2 separate regions of the Homo sapiens genome follow, and region 2 is linked to region 1. Evidence: promoter capture Hi-C in human tissues and cell types (Jung and others, 2019). All regions are on one chromosome and are shown on one strand. Each heading gives the region's core, a stretch centred on a gene start or on the middle of the fragment in contact. The rest is flanking DNA. Distances are from core to core; before and after follow the strand shown. Region 1 holds the start of ERAP2 (endoplasmic reticulum aminopeptidase 2). Region 2 has its middle 27 kb from the start of ERAP1.

The links. Contacts are between HindIII fragments. The study calls those that stand out against the background at their distance.
Region 2: a fragment that was not itself captured here is called in contact with the fragment with the promoter of ERAP2 in region 1 in 1 of the 25 tissues and cell types used here (heart left ventricle).

The regions. Positions count from the first base shown.
Region 1 is chr5:96,873,501-96,880,341 of GRCh38, forward strand. ERAP2 (endoplasmic reticulum aminopeptidase 2) reads left to right here and starts at 3,000. Exons shown (of 19, transcript NM_022350.5): 1 at 3,000-3,027; 2 at 6,064-6,760. The coding sequence starts at 6,186. It also overlaps a transcript of ERAP1 not described here. RefSeq lists enhancers at 2,639-2,768, 2,789-2,938, 3,109-3,318, 3,689-3,898. The HindIII fragment of the contact is 2,321 bases long and covers 908-3,228 here.
Region 2 is chr5:96,831,432-96,838,272 of GRCh38, forward strand. It overlaps a transcript of ERAP1 not described here. Among named protein-coding and RNA genes, the nearest start is that of ERAP1, 27 kb to the left of the region's middle. RefSeq lists a silencer at 4,548-4,597 and enhancers at 5,595-6,096, 6,097-6,596. The HindIII fragment of the contact is 4,045 bases long and covers 638-4,682 here.

The sequences.
Region 1 (6,841 bases), core at 1,750-4,249:
GGGCTGGCATTTACCTTGTGGTAGGTGGTTTACACAGGGGACACTCTGAGTGTTCCATAGACACTCTAGGTCAATGGAGAGGAAGGTGCAGAAAAGCTGAGGAAACACTTGGCTCATCCAGAAGTGGAAAGCACCCTGATGTGCTTGAAGCATGAAGCAAGTGTTGGGCAATCTAAGGAAAAACAAAAAACAAAAACAAAAACTAAAACACTGAAAATGCATTCACCCACTCAACTAACATTTGTTGAGGGTCTCTTATATGGCAGGCTCTGCTCTATACTGGGCACTCAGCAGTTAGAGGGCAGAGTTGCTACTGCAAAAAGCTTATGTTCTAGTGAGGAGACAAGAAAACAAACAAACAACTACATAATGAAGTATAAGGAACTGACCAAAGCTAAGAAGAAACAAAAAGCAGGCTGACAGGATAGGCCTTGGTGATGGTGGATTTAGGGAGGAGTGGTACTGCCTTAGAGCCAACAAGGAGGGTCTCTCTGAGTAAGAGACAATTCAGAGACCAGGATGAAATGGAAAACTGAGACATGAATTCCCTAAGCAATAAACTTCCCAAAGCTTATCCCAAAGAAAAGAGAAGAGAAAAGAAAAAAAAAAGAAGGAAGGAAAGAAAGAAAGAGAGAGAGAAAGAAAGAAAGAAAGAAAGAAAGAAAGAAAGAAAGAAAGAAAGAGAGAGAGAAAGAAGAAAGAAAAGAAAAGTTAGGAGCCCATTTTGCTGAGAAACTCTTTTAAATAAGCTACAAGTACTTGAATCTGGCTCAATTTTCACTTCTAGGATTCTGCAGCTCAATTCCATAGCCTGTTTCTTCATTCTCCATCACCACTTCTGTTCCAGTGGGCAGGAGAGAGCTCTGAAAACACACATGCACTCGCCCACATACCCACAGCTAGGCTGGATCTTGTGACAAGGAATATCACAGAAATACTCCCAGCCTCCTATACCTCTTCTACCTGCCCCCACGCCCTGCAGAGTTAGAGTCCGTAGATAAGCCCTTGGGGCCTCCTCTTCTTTGTCGTCTTTGTCCCCTTCTTTTTCCCACTCACTGGCTTCCAGCCATCCCCCTTCCTGTGGTGCCCCTCTCACTACATGAAATGCAGCTCTGAGGGACCCCATTCAGTCTTATGTTTCGGGCCTTAGGTGTAGGCTACTGCCTTCCTTTCTGCCCCTTCTACTTTATCGACTTGTTCTTTCAGGTTGAAATAATAAAATGTAGAAAGGTGGAAAAATTAAAGCTTGAGACTTAACTAGGATCTAATCATGGCAACATGTGCTATTGGGCCAAACATAGGTTGCAAACACAAACCACAGCAGGACAAGGCACATGATACAAGTCTATGAAGAGTGTCTGCAACATGATAAGAGCTAAGCTTGTTATATTTCACTTGACAATAGAAATTGTATGGATGTATTGCCATTTAATAGACTGTGATTCAAACAAAACAACTATAGGCTGGCATATAGGCTGCCAGTAGGCCACTATGGTTCCCACACTAGGACTTGCCCCTCTGTAAATGGGGAAATCAAGGAAAGATCTTGAGCAGTGGGGGAGGCATGGTCGAGCAGTAGTTGAAAGGATTAATCTGGTGGCATCGTACAAGTAACTGCAAGAAGCTGAGCTTGAGAAGCTGGGAAGACATGATTGAAGGCCATTGTGAGGAAGGATGAGGACCTGGACTACTTTAATAAGCGGTGGGATTTTTTCTTAGTTGGATAGAAAGAGATTGAAAATGATTCAAAAAGGCCAGTTGCGGTGTCTCATGCCTGTAATCCCAATCCTTTGGGAGGCTGAGGCAGAAGGATCACTTGAGCCTAGGAGTTTGAGACCAGCCTGAGCAACATGGGAAGACCTCATCTATAAAAAAAAAATAATAAATTAGCTGGGTGTAGTGGTGGATGCCTGTAGCCCCAGCTACTTGGGAGGCTGAGGTGGGAGGATCATTTGAGCTCAGGAAGTCAAGGCTGCAGTGAGCTGGGATGGCACCACTGCACTCCAACCTGGGTGACAGAGTGAGACCCTATCTCAAAAAAAAAAAAAAGAAAAGAAAAGGAAAAATCAACAGGCTTTGGTAACAAATTGGAGAGGGACAGAATCAAAGTAACTAACTATATGGTTCAATCCTAGATAATGGAAGAAGGCTGGAAGCATATAAAGCAAAGGGTGTTTATCTGGGGAAAGAAAACACTATTTGAGTTGTCAGGGTTCTGGTTCAGGTTAGGGTTAGACATCCATGTACTGTTGGTCCATCAGGCTGTTGGAATTACAGCAGCAGAACCCTTGAAGGAGGGATCACAATGGGAGCAATGTGGGATGAATGGGGATAAATGCTAAATCTGGGTACTGGAAAGGATAAAGAGAGGGCAGAGCAAAGGCCAGAGGTTTCATCTTTGTGGAAGGTCTGTATTCAGAGCAGAGAGGAAGTTGAAGCCCAACTCAAACAGGCAGATAAAGAGAGATCAAAGAGATGAGCATGAGATACAGTCCCCTCGTGCCCAAGGAGACAGGGTGGTTACAGACATGGAAAATCTGAGAATAATCACCTCTGATAAAGATCACAGAAGCTGCCCGGGAGGTGTTTGGTAAGCTTGGAGTTACGTTTGTGGGGTGGATGGGCAGAAGTCAGATTTCATAGCACTGAGGATGCAGCACAAGGAGAAGTTCAAGATCAATTCCTAAGACAACAACTTGGCACTAAAAAACATAAACTATGTTCTGAAGGCTTTACCCTGGGGACAAGGGAAGGGAGGTGATAACAGCAGAAGTGGCAGCCACTGGCGATCCTTTCTTTCCATGGTTTGGCTTCTACTCCAAAGCCACTTATTTGTGCATTCTACAAAAAGTTTCTTGTCCTTTTTGAAATAAAGCTCTTATCCTAAGCTCCATTCACACCTGCGTGATAATGAACCAGCTAGTACTTACTGTACTCAGGAAGCATGCAAAGTTCTGAATCTTAGAACAGAAAGTGAAAGCAAAAGTAAATTCCCCTTCAGTCAAATCTGCAGCAGCATGATTTAAGGTAACGTATCAACATTTCTCTTGGGTTTGTCTTAAAATTAGATTTTTTCAATAAGAATAATGAACTGAAGGTATAGAACTGCTGTGTTGAGAAGGTTTTGTAATCTAAGGCAAGGTTCTGGGGGACTGGGGTGAATTGGGCGCGGCTGTATTAGAAAGTGTATGCAGTTGAGGCTGGGACTTGATCTAAGACGCTGCTGCACTGACTCTCTTTCAGAGATCTTTTTGTCTTTTCTAAGCGTTTGTGACAATTCTTGCCTCTTCAATCCCAGGATGTTTTGTTCACTGCATTGCTATTTAAGGTACAGTGCAGTATAATAGAAAGCCCACCAGACCAAAGGGCAAAGAGCTATGTTTTAGTCCTGATTCTGTTTCAGACTTCCTGTGTGGATTTTGAGAAGTCACCATCCTGTTCCTTCATCTGTTTATTTAATTTAATTTATGTATTTATTTATTTATTTATTTTGAGAGAGAGCCTCGCTCTGTCGCCCAGGCTGGAGTGCAGCAGCACGATCTCGGCTCACTGCAACTTCCACCTCCCTGGTTCAAGCGATTCTCGTGCCTCAGCCTCCCGAGTAGCTAGGACTACGGGCATGTGCCACCATGCCCGGCTAATTTTTGTATTTTTAGTAGAGGTAGGGTTTCACCATGTTGGTGAGGCTGGTCTCGAATTCCTGACCTCAGGTGATCTGCCCACCTTGGCCTCCCAAAATGCTGGCATTACAGACCTGAGTCACTGTGCCCGGTCCTGTTTCTTTATCTGAACACTAAGGACTTGTACTAGCTGGCCTTTACAACCCTTACTAGTTCTAAAGTTAAAGACTGTGTGAGTAAAGCTTTTCTCTCTACTCTTATCAATCAAGTACATCTCTAGGAGTGTCTGCTACAAGTGGGGGCGAGCTACTCCTTCATTTTGGCCATTGAATGCAAGTTATAACCTCAATAATAATTTCATATCCAACACTAATTACTTACTTCCTATATGCTCCATGCTGTGCTGTGCCAACTTCTTCACATGAATTATTTCATTTAATCATCCCAGCATGAGGAAGGTATAATTATTACACTGTTTTATGGTTGAGATAAATGAAGCTCAAAAAGTAAAAAACTTTGCCCATGATCACGTAGGTGAGGTTGGTGGAATTAGCGTTGGAATCTGGGCACTCTGATTCCAAAGCCTCAGACCCACATAATAAGCCACTCCATTTTTTTTAAACCCTCCAAAATTCAAGCTAATAGACCAATTATGAGTGTACTTATCAGACGTTCTTGGAACACTGAGATTTGTAGCAGTAATTTAATGCTTGTTTTTAAAAAGAGGGAGAAGTATCTTTAATATTATTTTATTTTTGTTCCTTTAACAATACCTGTCACCTGCATTAATATTGCAAATTGAAAAATTGAAGTAATTGTTTGGATAATTAATGCTGCAGAACTTGTTAAGGATTATAAAAAGAAGAAGTAGCAGAGAAAACCTTCATGGTTTGAGTTGGAGCAGTAAGGAAGTAAGTAGAGGCAGGTGGTAGGGTGGCAGTAAGAATTGATTCCCCCAAATTAACTATGCTGTTTGTCCTAATTTTATATGTGTTGTAGCTTTACCCTTCAAAAAGAAAGAAACTTAGTTCTATTTACAAAGGTAGTAAATTCAGTTTGATTTAATTGTGCTTTCAAAAGTAGTGTAAAGGGAAAAGAACCGAACCTTAAAAAAATTCTGTAAGAATATTATAAACTCAAAATTTATTTCCATGGCTTTTGACATATTGAAAATAAACTGGGGATAAATACCTACCTTGACCAGCAACCTTTACACCAGTAGCCATAAAATGAGGCCATTCAGATAATGTTATTGAAAGAGGTGAAGTTCAATGCCATTCGTAGTAATAATAATATCTGGTATCCAAAGAATATAGAATATATATATAGAATATTCTTTGTGACTTATGAAGACAAAATAGAGACATCTTGCACAGTTTACTTTCAGGCATACACTTAAAATTACATGTGTGCCTGTGGTTCCAGCTAATTGGGAGGCTGAGACATCAGGATTGCTTGACCCCAGGAATTTGAGGCCAGCCTGGGCAACATGGTGACACATTGTCTTTCAAAAAAAATAAAATATGGCCAGGCGCAGTGACCCACGCCTGTGATCTCAGCACTTTGGGAGGCTGAGGCAAGTGGATCACCTGAGGTCAGGAGTTCGAGACTAGCCAGGCCAACATGGTGAAACCCCGTCTCTACTAAAAATACAAAAATTAGCTGGGTGTGGTGGCACATACCTGTAATCCCAGCTACTCGGGAGGCTGAGGGAGAAGAATCACTTGAACCCCAGAGGCAGAGGTTGCAGTGAGCCAAGATAGTGCCACTGCATTCCAACCTGGACAACAGCGAGATTCCGTCTCAAAAACATAAATAAATGAATAAAAATAAAGTAGGCTGGTCACAGTGGCTCACGCTTGTAATCCCAACAGTTTGGGAGGATTGCTTGAGTTTAGGAGTTTGAGACCAGCCTGGGTAACAGGGAGACCCCCATCTCTACAAAAAAGGTAGCCGAGTGTGGCGGTGTGTGTCTGTAGTCCCAGCTACTCTGGAGGCTGAGGTGGGAGGATCACTTGAGCCCAGGAAGTTGAGGCTGCAGTGAGCTGTGATCATGATTGCACACTCTACTCCTGCCTGGGCAACAGAGCAAGACCCTGTCTAAAACATAAATAAATAAACAAAAATTTAAAATATAACCAAATGTTAAAAACATTCAACATGCAATGAATTTACACACCTGCCTTCTGCTCGCTGCACAAGAATTCAGAAGAAATTCATTACATTCAATTTTAAGGTAGGGTTTTTTGGGGGAGTCCTAAAGGGTTTTTATTTGTAATAACCAGATAACAGCTTAATTTCTGCTCTATTTTGTGGATACTTGGCCTAATTCTGACAGAGAGCAGATTTTCCCTTACTCACACATACCTTTTTACATGTTTAAGATTTTATTTGTAAATTGAAATCTTTTTTGTCATGCTATAAGTGTGTTTTTTTCTTCTAGATTAAATTCATGTATTGAAAATATTGTTCAGACCCCATGTGACATAACTGGAGCCAGTGCAGTGCCATGAAGAACTACGAGATTAGCCTGGATATTAACTTGTCTTCTAGAGAATAGATTTCATGTTCCATTCTTCTGCAATGGTTAATTCACACAGAAAACCAATGTTTAACATTCACAGAGGATTTTACTGCTTAACAGCCATCTTGCCCCAAATATGCATTTGTTCTCAGTTCTCAGTGCCATCTAGTTATCACTTCACTGAGGATCCTGGGGCTTTCCCAGTAGCCACTAATGGGGAACGATTTCCTTGGCAGGAGCTAAGGCTCCCCAGTGTGGTCATTCCTCTCCATTATGACCTCTTTGTCCACCCCAATCTCACCTCTCTGGACTTTGTTGCATCTGAGAAGATCGAAGTCTTGGTCAGCAATGCTACCCAGTTTATCATCTTGCACAGCAAAGATCTTGAAATCACGAATGCCACCCTTCAGTCAGAGGAAGATTCAAGATACATGAAACCAGGAAAAGAACTGAAAGTTTTGAGTTACCCTGCTCATGAACAAATTGCACTGCTGGTTCCAGAGAAACTTACGCCTCACCTGAAATACTATGTGGCTATGGACTTCCAAGCCAAGTTAGGTGATGGCTTTGAAGGGTTTTATAAAAGCACATACAGAACTCTTGGTGGTGAAACAAGGTAAGAACTTGCTCAGGTAATTTACATTCTTTTGTGATAATTTCCTTACGAGTTACATCTCTTTGCCAGGAGCAGACTTCA
Region 2 (6,841 bases), core at 1,410-3,909, 42 kb before region 1:
TTTTCCATCCACGCACAGGAGGACTTGTGTCCTTCAGCCCATGATGTTCAAGGGCCAACTGTATAGTATGACTTATTTTGGAAAAGGGAAAGAGCACGTTCCTTTAATTAATTATAAGGCCAACCTGCAGTTTGTGCAAAAGCTACTTTCCTCCCAGGTTTATCAATACTCCTGGGATACAATCCCCAAGGGTCTTATCCATAGCATCTCTCAAAGTCAATTAGATATAGTCTAATGTGCCCTTTTCTCTGCCATCAGTCCTAGGAATAGCATCTGTCTGGCTGGGAAATGCTGCTATTTCTTCCTGCAGAATCCAGGCTTAGCAGGGGTAGAAGCAAAACATGGTGAAGTAGAGAAGCAGCTAGCCCACGTCTTTCCCTCTTTCCATTTCTCTAGCCCTCTGCCTTGCCCATTGCAGACTTTGCTGCTGTGGTGGGCTTGAGCTGGGTTGAGAAGACCTTTAACTTTGAATACAGTCAGAGATTTTTATTATTACAGTAAACTGGACATATTGACTACCACAGTGACAGTATTTTGAGATAAAGTAATTAGAACTTTTTATTGTTTCTGAATAATGAGAGAAAATTATGGAAGCTGCTTGTGATTTTATCTAAGAGATGGGGAAATCCTGGCTTCACAGAATGGGTCTGAGTGTGCCAGAACCATGCAGGGGGAGTAAACTCGCTGAAACAAGAGTCCTACCTAACATACCAATTTTACAATAATTAGGTACAGAAACAGACTCACTATATTAACGGAAGCTCTCTATTCACTCTGTAAAACATATTGACTGGTATCAAAGCAAACTTTGCTCCTGGTGTATGATAGAACTTCTGTCCCCTGAGATGAATGCTGGCCAGGAGGCAGTTACATTTGTTCCAAACCTGACTTGCCAGTTGTATTCTTTAGGTAGTTACTTAAGTTAATAAAATGTTATTAAATCAATGGGTAGAATAGAATGTTGCACCTATGAACACCAAGTCGAATATTTTGGAAAGTCTTGATTAAATTGAGTGGAATTGGGGGTATATATAATAGCTGCAAAAGACTGAGAAAAGTTGTAAAAATATAGAAGAACTACACATTCAGATTTTTCCACAAATGTCTTTAAAGTCTTCCTTTGAAATGAGGAATGCATAAAATTAAAGGATTTGAAAAAATTCTTTCTGGGCCCCTTCCAGCTTGTGTTATTTTATGACTTTTATCCTTGAAAATATTTAATCATCTTTATAAACATGAACAGGATTTGTAAAATGTATTTAAGTCTCTGAAAATGTGCTATAAGTAGCAGATATCATTGTACGTACAAAGAGACAGTGATGCTACAAATATCTTCGATTTTATCGATGTTCTTCCACACTGCTTGAATTGCATTCATGATCCCTTTGGGCTGATGTCATGGACTGAATGTTTGTGTCTCCTGAAAATTTATGTGATAAAATTTAGCACCCAATGTGATGATATTAGAAGATGGGGCCTTTGAGACTAATTAGGTCATGAAGGTGGAGCCATCGTGAATGAAATTAGTGCCCATATAAAAGGGATCCCGGGGAGTAATCCTGCTCTCTTTCTGCCACCTGAGGATACAAGAATTCATCAGTCTACAACCTGGAAGAGGTCTCAGCCATGCTGATGCCTTAATTTTGAACTTTTAGCCTCCAGAACTGTGAGAAATAAATTTCTGTTTTTTATAAGCCACCCAAAATACGCTACTTTGTTACAGCAGCCTAAACTGAGATAGCTGATAAATTTGGAGACCAATATTTAGACAGAAACTGAAATTATTAATTACATTATTCAATCTGCCAAAGGTGACACTTTAGGATTGCTGTTGTCCAGCTGCAAATCTCTTTGTGTTCCATTATGCTTCTCCAGTGGATGGGGTCTTGAGCTTCATGAGTAAAAGATGTTCATTACACCTTCTGTGCTTTGATCATATAAATATTTCTCAACAGGTTATTTTTGGAAATGTATGTTTGTTTACTGATATCAAAAGGGTTTTTTGTATGTGGTTATATTGGTGATCAAAATGGTGTCAAGATAAAAATGAACTATTTTGAAGGACATATATATTCTCAATCATAAAGTCAATTCAAAATGTTGGTTCATTGAGGTTCTCCTATATACAGATCACTATTTTAGGGAGTGGGAAGACATGAAAATAAATAGAATTTAGTCACATGGTTCCTGACCTCACCTTGTGTAAAAAAATAGCAATTAGCCGAGCATGGTGGTGCGTGCCTGTAATCCCAGCTACTTGGGAGGCTGAGGCAGGGGAATCGCTTGAACCCGGGAGGCGGAGGTTGCAGTGAACCAAGATTGCACCACTGCACTCCAGCCTGGCGACAGAGCAAGGCTCGGAAAAAAAAAAAAAAGAAAAGAAAAAGAAGATAGCATGTGAATTCTGACAGGATTTTCTTTCCTTCAGGTTCAGCCCTCCATGTGTCTTCTGATTTTCCTGTCCACGTATCTTTGTCTTTGTATTCATTAAAAAAATTGAATACTCCCAACTTATTAATGTAGTAGTAATGATCCATTGCTGATTGTACCAAAATGCATGCCAGTTGAAGTAAAGTTGCTAATTGGGTAGCCACAACTAGTTGAAATGAAAAACTGACACTTAAAATGGTAGATATAGCTTCACAGAATGAGAAAGCGGTAGCCTTAATTTGTTAGCATCATCAGATATTTAGTTCCTCAGTAATTCAGTGACTTCCGCAGTTAGTTAAAGCTTTCAGTAAAGAAAAATGTTTTTAAATACCTCTCTCTGCCACAAGAATCTCCTTCTCCAACAAATTAATTTCCTTCTTGCCAAGGTATGTGTGTACTTGTCAACCTTCTCAACTCATGAGTCTGCATTCAGCAGAAGGGGTCCTATTCCAGCTCTCCCACTTACTATTTGTTAGAGTTTGTCAAGCTTTCCAGTCTCAGTTTTCTAATCTTCAGTATAGAATAATAACCCCGACCATAAAGAGCATTGTGCACAATGGGCCTATTATTAATGTTCATTTCTTCTGTGAGTTCAACACAGTGATCAGATCATATCCAATTTGAGGAACTTAAAGTTAACTGCTAAGTTGTGATATGGTAAGTGGAGTCCTGAGTTTGATGTATGTGAACTTATACTGAGACAAAACTTTTACCTGTGGTCTAGTTCACAGTAAAATGAACTACTGGAAGAATAAAAAAAGATTTGAGAACTCAATCAAAATAAAATCAATCCAAATAAATGGTAGTGCAATTTGCTGAGTTTCTTCAATGAAGAAACATACACAATAAACCTGTGAATGTTATCACTGGAAGTGTTTGATGCTGTGGGAAGGAATAACATTTCTATTTCACTGTTATTACTAAATCATAATTGCATGGTGTTTAACCTCTACTGTATAAATCATCTAATGAGGATTCATTTCTATGTAATTTTTTGTTACACAAAGAAACACTGCATAATACTTACCCAGTAATAGGCAGTTTTTTAGACCCATTGAATCAAAATCTGATTTGGGGACTGTAAATTTACATTTTAAAGAAACACCCACATGATTCTTAGGCACACAACCGACTGAGAACCACCAGGATGAGGGCCTTTAGTATTTGTTGTGTGCTGTCCCTTTCCACATTTCAAAGAATACTAAGGGGCTGTTAGGCGTGTACTAGTGGCTGAGAAGTTTGCTTTCACAGTAAAGAAGGTAACACCATGACACTGTCTGTGGCTTAAGATAAAATTATGATATTTCTTGAGAAAGACAAAACTCTGCTGTTGACTGTCCTAGAAGGCTAAAAGGATAATTGGAGTTGTCGAGCTGGTTATGACCAAAGCTGCTTTAGAACTTCTTTGGAGTTTGAGTGATCCTTGCCACATGGTGAGATCTTCAGGGACCTGTCAAGTTCCTGACAAGAACTTGATTGAGGACAAGACACTGCTCCTTTAAGCCACATGAATTGCTACAAGGATCTTAAAATACACAAATGAAGACCAGGTAGAAGCTCAGATGCTGGTCTCAAATTCCAACCCTGTTGTCAGGATTTTCTGTCATATATCTTTTTAAAAACAACAAAGTAGAACATCCTTACATGTAGGGAAGTTTATTTGTACGAAATGATGTTAAAAAAAATTCCAGGTGCTTTTTAAAACAATTATTGCTGATTGTTTTGTTGTATATTAATAATACCTCTATGTGTTTGATTTTAAGTCTAAGTTTACAGTGTGTTTTCCTTCTGTATAACCATGTTTTACTGTACTATCATAACAAATTTACAGTTGTACAAACATGAATAAATCCTTCAAAAAGCCAGCAGTACGAAGGCTCACAAGTCGGAAAGGCCCATCCTACTTAGTAGGTACTACAAACTTTATCAACTGGAGCAGGGTCTTCAAAAGGAGGGGTTGGACCTCTGGGAAACCACAGAGGCTTTCCAAGGGACACCCAGGCAGACAGGTGGTTCTAACAGGGCATCAATTTCCTGAATTTCAACTGCAGGCATACTCTATCCAAACATGATCTGAGAACACTCTTGTGGTTTTAAGGTTATATGGGACCTCCGTTTCACCTTTGCTTTCACTTGACAAAAGAAGGAACAACTTCTCTCCATGGTTAATACTACTATGATACAATTTCTGAGATGAGAAACCTGCATGAGTCAGAGAGAAATGTGAAATAATATTTCTGGTATTGAAAAAATGAATGCCTTCAATGACCGGAAAACAAATCCTTTTACATTTCAGGGATTTTCCACCTCTTTGGTTTTTTTTTTTTTTTTTTTTCTGTTTTTTGTTTGTTTGTTTTCAAGACAGAGTCTCACTCTGTCACCCAGACTGGAGTGCAGTGGTGCAATCTGGGCTCACTGCAACCTCTACGTCCTGGATTCAAGCAGTTCTTCTGCCTCAGCCTCCCAAGTAGCTGGGACTACAGGCCTGAGCCACCACACCTAGCTAATTTTTGTATTTTTAGTAGAGACAGGGTTTCACCATGTTGGCCAGGCTGGTCTCGAACTCCTGACCTCAAGTGATCCCCCCACTTCAGCCTCCCAAAGTGCTGGGATTACAGGCGTGAGCCACCACGCCTGGTCCACATCTTTGGTTTTAACAAAATTAAAGGGAGACCTAACTAGTAGATCATTAAAAATACTTTTTGATGATAGGTCACTATGTGATTTTTGGCATATTAGTGGCAAGGAGTTCAAATAATTGAGTGACATTGCTAAAACAAAACTCATTTCATCCCCAACCACCAACTAATATAAATAAGATTCCTTAGCACTTACATAAAAATAATTTAAAATAGGAATAAAACTGATGCTGAATCCCAACTTATTCTAGCAATAAAGAGCCATATGTGGATGCATCCATTGAAAAGCAGGCCTCATTCTTCTCCTTAAAAGATACGTCATGTTAAATAATGTATCAAAATGTGTAATGTACTTACCTTGTTTTGATTAATTGGGTATCAATAAAAATTATAATGATAATGCAAATCAGAAGATTTTTTAAATAGTTAAGCCTTGAGGTCACTGAAAATTAAATTTTTATTTATATTTCAATTTTCATACATATTTCTGTTTCAAAAAATTATGATGTCATAAGGACTTTCAATCAAAATATATTAGGCTAAAATTTGGGAGAGAAAATGAATTGGAGAGGAAGGAGGAACTTCTAACTATTTAAAAAAGAACATGTTCATCTTTTTAGTGTAGATATGTAGGCATCAATTCCTCATGATAGTCACATTCCACTGGACACACTTTAAAATGTAGTATGAGTTTTAAATGTCAATATTTATGATATGCCAGGAATTATATCATTTACAACTATTAAATGTATAAAACTTTTAGATATTTGAAATTTAGATACAGAGATAACATTTTTAAGTGTTGGAAGGGTACATAGTTTTTCAAAGTTATTGTACAGAACACAACAGCAAACAAACCTACATTAGGTCAGTAGTTATATGTTAATGAAGCAGGAAATTTCCCCGACCCCTTCGTGGGCGGGAACTGGAGTGCACGGGCGCTGGACCCAGGCAGGAGCTTCAGCCAGGGTGAATTCCACTCACTCAAACCCACTGCGTTCTACCCCTCGTGGGACGGGGAGCGCAGGTGGGTGGTGCAGGAGCCGAGGCGAGTGCCTTTGGGCGCCACCAGGAGCAAAACTCTGTAGGTGCCATGGCAGCGTCTAGGGAGGTACCTGCAACTCCTGAAGCCCCAGAAGGAATGTTACAGTCAGTGCTCTTTTAGCTTTGCTGTCAGTGGACGGCTTAAGTGTTAACAGCTCAGTGGAGGGTCAGTGTGACAGCCTTTCGCACCTGTGCCAGAGTTCTTGTCTGGCATTCGGGAGGAATGAGGTCACATGAACAAATTAAAGATGGTAAATGCGGGGGATTTTATTGCTGGTGAAAGTGGCTCTCAGCGTGAAGGGGAGCTGAAAGGGGGACAGAGCAGGAAGATAAGCTTTCCCCAGAGTCCCGCCATCCCTCTCTGAAACTACGCCATCAAGCCGTCCCTCTGAAGTCAACCTGCTTATCTCCAATGTCCAACTGTAGTCTCTGACATCCCACTGCTTCTCCTCTTCTCCTCTTCTTCTCTCTCTGCTGGTGGAGCTTGGGGCTTTAATGGGCACAGGGATGGGGGGTGGGGTGGGCCATGGGTGGTTTTGGGAAAGGCAACATTTGAGCGGGAAAACGGGAATGCATGTTCTCACTTTGGGCCGTGGTTCCAGGCTTAAGGGTGGGGTCCTCGCAGCGAACCTGCCCTCTTCTGCCCAGAATTTCCTGCCTCCTGTCCCTATCATTAATAATATCTCCAAATGCCTGGGTTGTCGAATGGGTTACCAAGGCTGCCAATG